Regions from separate parts of the Homo sapiens genome. Here region 2 is linked to region 1. The links are contacts of gene promoters, found by promoter capture Hi-C in human tissues and cell types (Jung and others, 2019). All regions are on one chromosome and are shown on one strand. Each heading gives the region's core, a stretch centred on a gene start or on the middle of the fragment in contact. The rest is flanking DNA. Distances are from core to core; before and after follow the strand shown. Region 1 holds the start of PDGFA (platelet derived growth factor subunit A). Region 2 holds the start of UNCX (UNC homeobox).

What was found. The method cuts DNA at HindIII sites, captures the fragments that hold promoters and counts their contacts. A contact is called where the count stands out against the background at its distance.
Region 2: the fragment with the promoter of UNCX here is called in contact with the fragment with the promoter of PDGFA in region 1 in 1 of the 25 tissues and cell types used here (stomach).

Annotation. Positions count from the first base shown.
Region 1 is chr7:518,052-521,383 of GRCh38, forward strand. It overlaps PDGFA (platelet derived growth factor subunit A), which reads right to left and starts at 1,795. Exons shown (of 6, transcript NM_033023.5): 1 at 888-1,795. The coding sequence starts at 950. PDGFA-DT (PDGFA divergent transcript) reads left to right here and starts at 2,340. Exons shown (of 3, transcript NR_033963.1): 1 at 2,340-3,332. RefSeq lists an enhancer at 587-1,508 and silencers at 765-854, 1,315-1,454, 1,735-1,824, 1,925-2,264. The HindIII fragment of the contact is 45,371 bases long and covers 1-3,332 here.
Region 2 is chr7:1,231,285-1,234,616 of GRCh38, forward strand. UNCX (UNC homeobox) reads left to right here and starts at 1,588. Exons shown (of 3, transcript NM_001080461.3): 1 at 1,588-2,007; 2 at 2,236-2,411. The coding sequence starts at 1,734. RefSeq lists enhancers at 2,593-3,137, 3,310-3,332. The HindIII fragment of the contact is 11,886 bases long and covers 1-3,332 here.

The DNA.
Region 1 (3,332 bases), core at 545-3,044:
GCCCCACCCCGGGCTCCGGCCCAGCCGCGGCCCTAGCGCCGACTAAGACGCCCAAATCCAGCCGGCGGCCGGGAGAAGAAGCCTCCAGGGAAAGCGAGGGTTAAACTTCCACCTCGCGCAGCTCTCCGTGCCCTGCGGAGACCACCCTCACCTCTGGCCTCCCCCACTCCCCTCCCCGATTTTTAAGGAGAGTCGGGGGTCGCTGGGGAGCCTGAAGCACTAAGTTCCCACGACGGGGGCTGTGGAAAGTCATTCATCACAGCAAAGCTCCCGGGGATGGGGATGGGGATGGGGATGGGGGGGCGGGGACGCCGCGGTGGGAGGGTGCGGACGCCTGGCCCAGCCCCAGCTCGCCTCGCTCAGCCACCTGTAAGCAGGCCCGGGCGGGCGGGACTGCGCCGGCCCTGAGCCCCGCCGGGCTTGGGGACTGGGAACCGAGGGCTGCAGCTTGGCGCTGCCCACCCTGCCCGGCCAGGGGCTTCCGCAGCAGCCGCCCCTACCTATTTATCCGCCGCCCTTCTCTCCTCCCCAGGCTCCGCCGGCTCACACACACCCCCTTCCCCGCTCCCCGCACCCCGCTGCTGCAGCGCCCGCTGCGCCCCAGCTCCCCTTCCCCGGAGAGGACACTGCGCCCCCCGAAGTTTCTGCCCACTCGTCCACCTCGCTGCTCCCCGGTCCCCCCGAGGCAGAGCGACCGACGCAACACGCTGGAAACTCCCCACACACACTTAGGCATGGCAGAAAATAGAACCCAGTTGGGAAAATCTAAACATCGACCACCCTGGCAGGAACCAAAACGCTCTCTGCAGAGCCCGTGGCGCCCCAGCCGGCGGGGGGTGTGCGCCGGAGGAGCCGGCGCAGGGACGGGGCGCGGGGGCGGCACCAACCTCGGCCAGAACATGGGCGAGGTATCCGCAGCCGAGGAGCAGCAGGCAAGCCAAGGTCCTCATCGCGTCCCGAGGCGCTGGCTGCTCGGAGGAGAGGCGAGGCCGCGGGGCGGGCGCTCCAGCCGGTCTCCTGTGGCGGCGAAATTCAGTACCATCCCTTAGGGAGCGCGGCCCGGAGGAGGGTGGCGCGGGGAGCACGGAGCTGGCGGAGCGCGCCCGGCGCGAGCAGTGAGTGCGGAGAGGCAGGCAGCGCCAGCCAGGAGGAGGAGAAACAGGGAGTGCGCGCCCGCAGCGCGGGGAGCCTCCTGGGCCGCCGGGTAGGGGGTGGGGACGGAAGGGGCGGAGGGCGGGGGCTGGGCTTCTTCCTCGGTGCGTTCCCGGTGCTGGCCGCCGCCGCGCTCGCTCCCCGCGCTGGCTTCAGGAGCGACCCGGCCGGTAATTCTGCATATTTGCGGACATCAGCCCCAAGAAGAACTCCGGAGGGAGTCTGGGGCCGCCGCCGCCGCCGCCGCCACACCGATCACCTGCCTGGACGCCTGGCCCGGCCCCGGCTGCGAGCTGCGAGCCGCCCTGCGCGCCCACCGCCGGCCCCGCGCTCGCCTCCGGCCTCCTCTTGCAGCCGCCGCCCGGCCGGGCACAGCGCGGCCCAGCACCCCCTCCGCGGCGCGCCCTCGGCTCCGGCGCCGCGCTCCGCCCTCCGCTCGCCGGGGCCGGGCAGCGCCCGCGGCCGAGCCGCCTGGCAGCCACCACCCGCCGCCCGGGGCCTCGCTGCGCCGCCCGCGCGGGCCTGAGGGCGGGCGCAAGGCCGAGTCGGCGCCTCCGCCGCAGCCGCCGCCGGGAGAGGAGGAGGAGGAGTAGGCGCAGGCCCGGCTCGCCGGAGTTGGGCGGGCTCCGCAGGGCGCGCGTGTGGAGCCGGCCGGCGGCGGGGAGAGGGTTATAGCGCCGCCGCCGCGCCCCTCCCCCGCCCCCGCCCCCGCCCCCCCCCCCCGCCTCCCCCGGATTCCGGGCCTGGGACCCGCACCTCGGAAGCGCTCGGGGTTCGTGCGGACCCGGCAGGGCCCGGGCGCCGCCGCCGCGGCAGGGAGCACACACGCGCTCGCGCAAGCAGCTAAATCCATCAAAGCCCCGCGCCCGGCTCCGCGCCGGGGCTCCGCGCCCCTCCCTCGAGCTTGCCCACCCTCCAGTGCCAGCTGCAATCCTGCGGCACCGGGTGGGGAGGGAGGAGGCCGCCGCAGAAGCGCCGCCGTCGCCGGCTCGCCTCTCTCGGGCCCCAGCGGCGGCAGCGGGCAGCGCCCAGAGCTGCTGCGCCAAAAAGGGCCAGAGAGCCGGTCCCCGCCCCCGCCCCGGCGCTCCGGCCGCTCTCCACGGTTCGGATCCAGGGCCCCAGCCTTCCTCTCTCCATAAAAGGAGGGGGAGTCAGTCTTTGGGGAAGGAGGGGGGCGGGTTTGGGGCACTCACCTGGCGGCTGCCACGCGCCCCCGCCCAGGATCCGAGGCCTGGGGCATCTGAATGAGGACCCTCCACCCACATTTCCACTTGGGAGCGAGCTCCAGTCGGGGAAAGGGCCTGCAGCCCGCCTCGTCCCCACCCTGGGACCCCGCGCCCCCCAGTCCCCCACTCCCGCGCCGAAGGCAGGGCCGCGCCCTGAGCCGGGAAGTCGAGGGGATGGAAGGGAAAGGAGCCACCGGTGAGGGTCCCCCGGGTTCTGAGCCTCCCGCGTCGGGATCCGTGGGGCGCACAGAGCGCCACCTCCGGCCGAGGCGCAGCTCAGAGCGCGATGCGGGGGAGGAACGCGCGCGGAGGCCGAGGTCTGAGCGTGGCTAGACGGCTCCCACGCCGAGAAAGGGCGGGTGCGCCTGGGCTGGATGGATTTCGCCTCCCTAGACCAGGAGGGATTGGACCCTGACTACAGGTCCAGGTGCTCGTCAGTGCCCTGCCAGGGGGTCTACGCGTCCTGGTACCGGGTCCAGCGGGGTGGCGTGCTGTGCAGACCCCGAGGCTAGACGGCCTAGGCCCCTGGAGCCCAGGAGACGCTTCCTTGGGTGAGCAGCGGAGAATCCCGCCCGGCCCAGCCGTCACCCCCAACCCTGTCGATTAAACCCCTGCCCCCGTCGCGGTCGCCCTCCCTCCAGACAAAGGCCGTTAAGGCGCAGCCCCGCGGGCGGTCTTTCATCCCCAGCTAGGCCAGCTCTAGCATTTCAAAGGCCGAATCCGGAGAGCGCTTCGGGGGCTCTCCCCTTCCCCCAAATATTTGGGGAGCGACGCCTCTCCCTCCGCTCCCAGTGGGTCGCGTCTACACGCGCCCTTCCACACACCTGCAGGCCCCCTCCCCACGTCTCTCCCTTCCGTTGGCCGCAGCCCCACACCACGACCCCCGCGGTCAAGCATGCCCTCTGGGTGGTCAGGACCAAGCGGGACCGGGACAGAACCAGGGGAGCCTTGGAA
Region 2 (3,332 bases), core at 338-2,837, 710 kb after region 1:
GGATCGGCCCGTCCACGACCTTCAGTTAGGAACAGGGCCAGACTGTGGGTCCAGTCGCAGGGACAGGCAGTCGTGTGGCAGGACGGGGTGGCCTTGCGCCCGCCAACCCAAGCATTCCCCTCCTGAGCGTTTCCGGCACCCCCCACCCTCCCCGGCCCAGGCACGGGCACCTGACCCGGAGGGACGCAGAGATGCGCACGGTCCCGGCCTGCCCTTCCCTCTCACGCGGGCTAGGGCTTGGAGGCCTGGCCCAAGTCACTTACTTACACCCAAAGCCAACTGGTCTGTCACTTTGCCCTGGGGTGGTGGTGGCTCCGCAGACTGGCCCAGCCCAGGCCGGAGCTCTCCTCCTCTCTTCCCCGCCCTGGGCTGGCCGAGGCTCGGGGCACTCACTGCTGGAGAGGTGGCCCTAACCCAACTAGTCCAGCACTGGGGTCCCGCAGCCAAATGCGACCACCCCACTGACAAACTTTTTTACAAAGGAGAGAGATGGACCGACATCCCCTCATTTCTTTCCTTGCTGCCCACAATCCTGATTTGCTGCTTATTTAAGAATATATCCTTTAGTGATTTAGCTTTGAGTCTATCAATATTTTATAGCAGAGAAGGGAGTGACACTTCTCTGAGAACATAATTTAATTATAATAAATGGGTTGGGTGCTTCAGCCCCATCCTTCAGAGGCCGAGTCAGAGCGGATGTATTTATCTTTATTCGAGCGTGTAAGGGGGTGGGGGCGGATCGGCCCCACCCCAAAGTTACTTTTCCCCTCCTGTCCCCATCCCTCTCTCCTCCTCTGCGCCCGGGCTTTATGGGGATGGGGGTCGGGGAGCCTCCGCAGCCCCCCCCACCTCTGTCTTTGTAGATAGGGCGACTGCCAGTCAATCAGAGAGGGCATTAGTTACGCCTCTTTATTGACAGGGTGCTACATTCTGTAGTTCTTCTCTTTCGGGATCGCCCTCCTCCTCCTCCTCCTCCTCCTTCCTCCTCTCCCGCCGCCTGCAGCCGGAGAGGAGGAGATGAGAAGCCTTGTAGTTTTAAATTCAATGTGACAGTTTCGGAAAAGCGGATGATGAATCTCCTATTATTGGATCAGTCTATTTGCCGCTCAATGTCTCTCTGTAATTGGAGCAACATCACTTTAAAGGTTCAGAGAGTACAGCATTTCTGGTGAAAAATCCCCACAACACGGCGCTGAATGTTTTAAAGGGAAATCTATTAGTGATTTGCGGAGGGGCGGGGAGGCGGCGGCTGGCGGGAGGCGCGGGCTCGGGGCCGGCCCCGAGTGAAGTGGGGGGCTAGCTGGGGGCCCCTGCCCCGGGCCCAGGCACCAGCCCGCGCCTGCCCGGCCCTGGGCGGCCCCTCCCTCCCTCCCTCCCTCCCTCCGGCTCCCCCCGCCCCCAGCCCGTCTTGTTGTGACAGTTCCTGATACTGTTTATTGAGGTGCATGTCAGGTATAATTAGCAATCGATATGGAAAACGTTTCCCTGCACCCAGCACGCCTCTGACGTCAGAGCCGATTAGCGCTTCTTATTGGTCCCAAATTCCCCGGGCCGCGGCTAATTATCGGGAGCTTGATGTTGATAAGTAAAGCGCCGGAGTGCGGGCGAAGCATGTGTGGGGCTCCGGGTCCCTGTCTCCGCCGCCGCCGCCCGCGCCTCCCGCCGCTGGCCCGCCCCGGCCCCGGCCCGCGCCCCCGCGCCCCGCCACCGGCCCCGCCGGCCCCCCGCGCGAGATGATGGACGGCCGCCTCCTGGAACACCCGCATGCCCAGTTCGGGGGCTCGCTGGGCGGCGTGGTGGGCTTCCCCTACCCGCTGGGCCACCACCACGTGTACGAGCTGGCCGGGCACCAGCTGCAGTCGGCCGCCGCCGCCGCCTCGGTGCCCTTCTCCATCGACGGCCTGCTCGGGGGCTCGTGCGCCGCCGCCGCCTCGGTGGTCAACCCCACGCCGCTGCTGCCAGCCGCCTGCGGGGTCGGCGGGGACGGCCAGCCCTTCAAGCTGTCAGGTAGGCGCGGCGGGCGGGAGGGCGGGGAGGAGTGCGGCTGGGGGCGGGGGCCCTGGTCCGGCCGAGGCGCTGGGGGGCCCGGGGCTGGCGAAGGAGAGCCGGCTCCTAGGCGGCCGTCTCTGCGCCCCCCCCCCCGGATCCAGGCGGCCAGCGGGTAGCGGGAGGGAGGGGTGGGGGTCGGGCCTGGGCCGGTGGCTGAGCCGCGCTGCGTCCTGTGACTGCCCGCAGACTCGGGGGACCCGGACAAGGAGAGCCCGGGCTGCAAGCGGCGGCGCACCCGCACCAACTTCACCGGCTGGCAGCTGGAGGAGCTGGAGAAGGCGTTCAACGAGAGCCACTATCCCGACGTGTTCATGCGCGAGGCGCTGGCGCTGCGCCTAGACCTGGTCGAGTCCCGAGTTCAGGTAAAGACCCGGCGTCGCTCCCGGATCTGCCATCCGGACCCCAGGCTCTGGGCGCGCCGGGACGCCTTTGTTCCAGGTGGCGAGATATCGTCCCCTTGCCGCGGGCCCGCTTCGCGCTCGCCTGCTGGGGAAGAGTGGAGGGGTGGGGGTTCTGGGGCTCGGCCCCTCACGGACAGCGGGGTGGGTAACTGCCCCCCAAAAGCCTGGGCGGCTTGAGAAGGGCCGGCGGCAGCACCCGAGTCACCAGAACAGCGGCTGCGTCCGAACCGGGAAGCGGCGTGGTGGGTTGGCGGAGGCCGGGCCAAGTGAGGTCTCCAGGCAGGGGCGAGGAGGGGAGGAGGGGCCGGCTTGGCTCCGACCCGGAGGAGAGAGGGAAGGGGACCCCCCCCCGCCCCCGCACCGCCTCAACCTTCCGCGCGAGGCTCTGTCACCCAGCCTGGAGCGAACGAGTCTGTTTACCTTGCGCCTGCAAAATATTCAGATGGAAACATGTATTTATTCATCGCTTTGCAGAAGGGAACAGCTGAGGAAGGGGAGGCAGAAGCTTAAACAGTTAACACATTGAGAAAGTGGGAGAAAAAAAGGTGTCTGAATTTTTAATAATAACCCCGGTCTCATCTTTTTCTTACGACTGTTTTCCCGTAAATTTGCTATCATTTGGAGATGGCTGATGGTATTGTTTTAAAAATACAGTGTCAGCTTGGTGGATTAAAAATTCCAAGATGATTTGTGCATAATTAAATGTTTCCCTGGAGCAAAGAAATCCTCTTTTTCTGCGGTGGGTGCGGTGTGGGGTCCAGGTCTGTGGTGCGGTGTGCGGTTGTGGGTGCTAGGCGTTGAGGCAGACGCTGGCAAAACGCCTGTTTATCACCAATAGCTTTGTCTAAAAAGGTGTGTTTGTCCTGCGCTTGGACCTCCTCT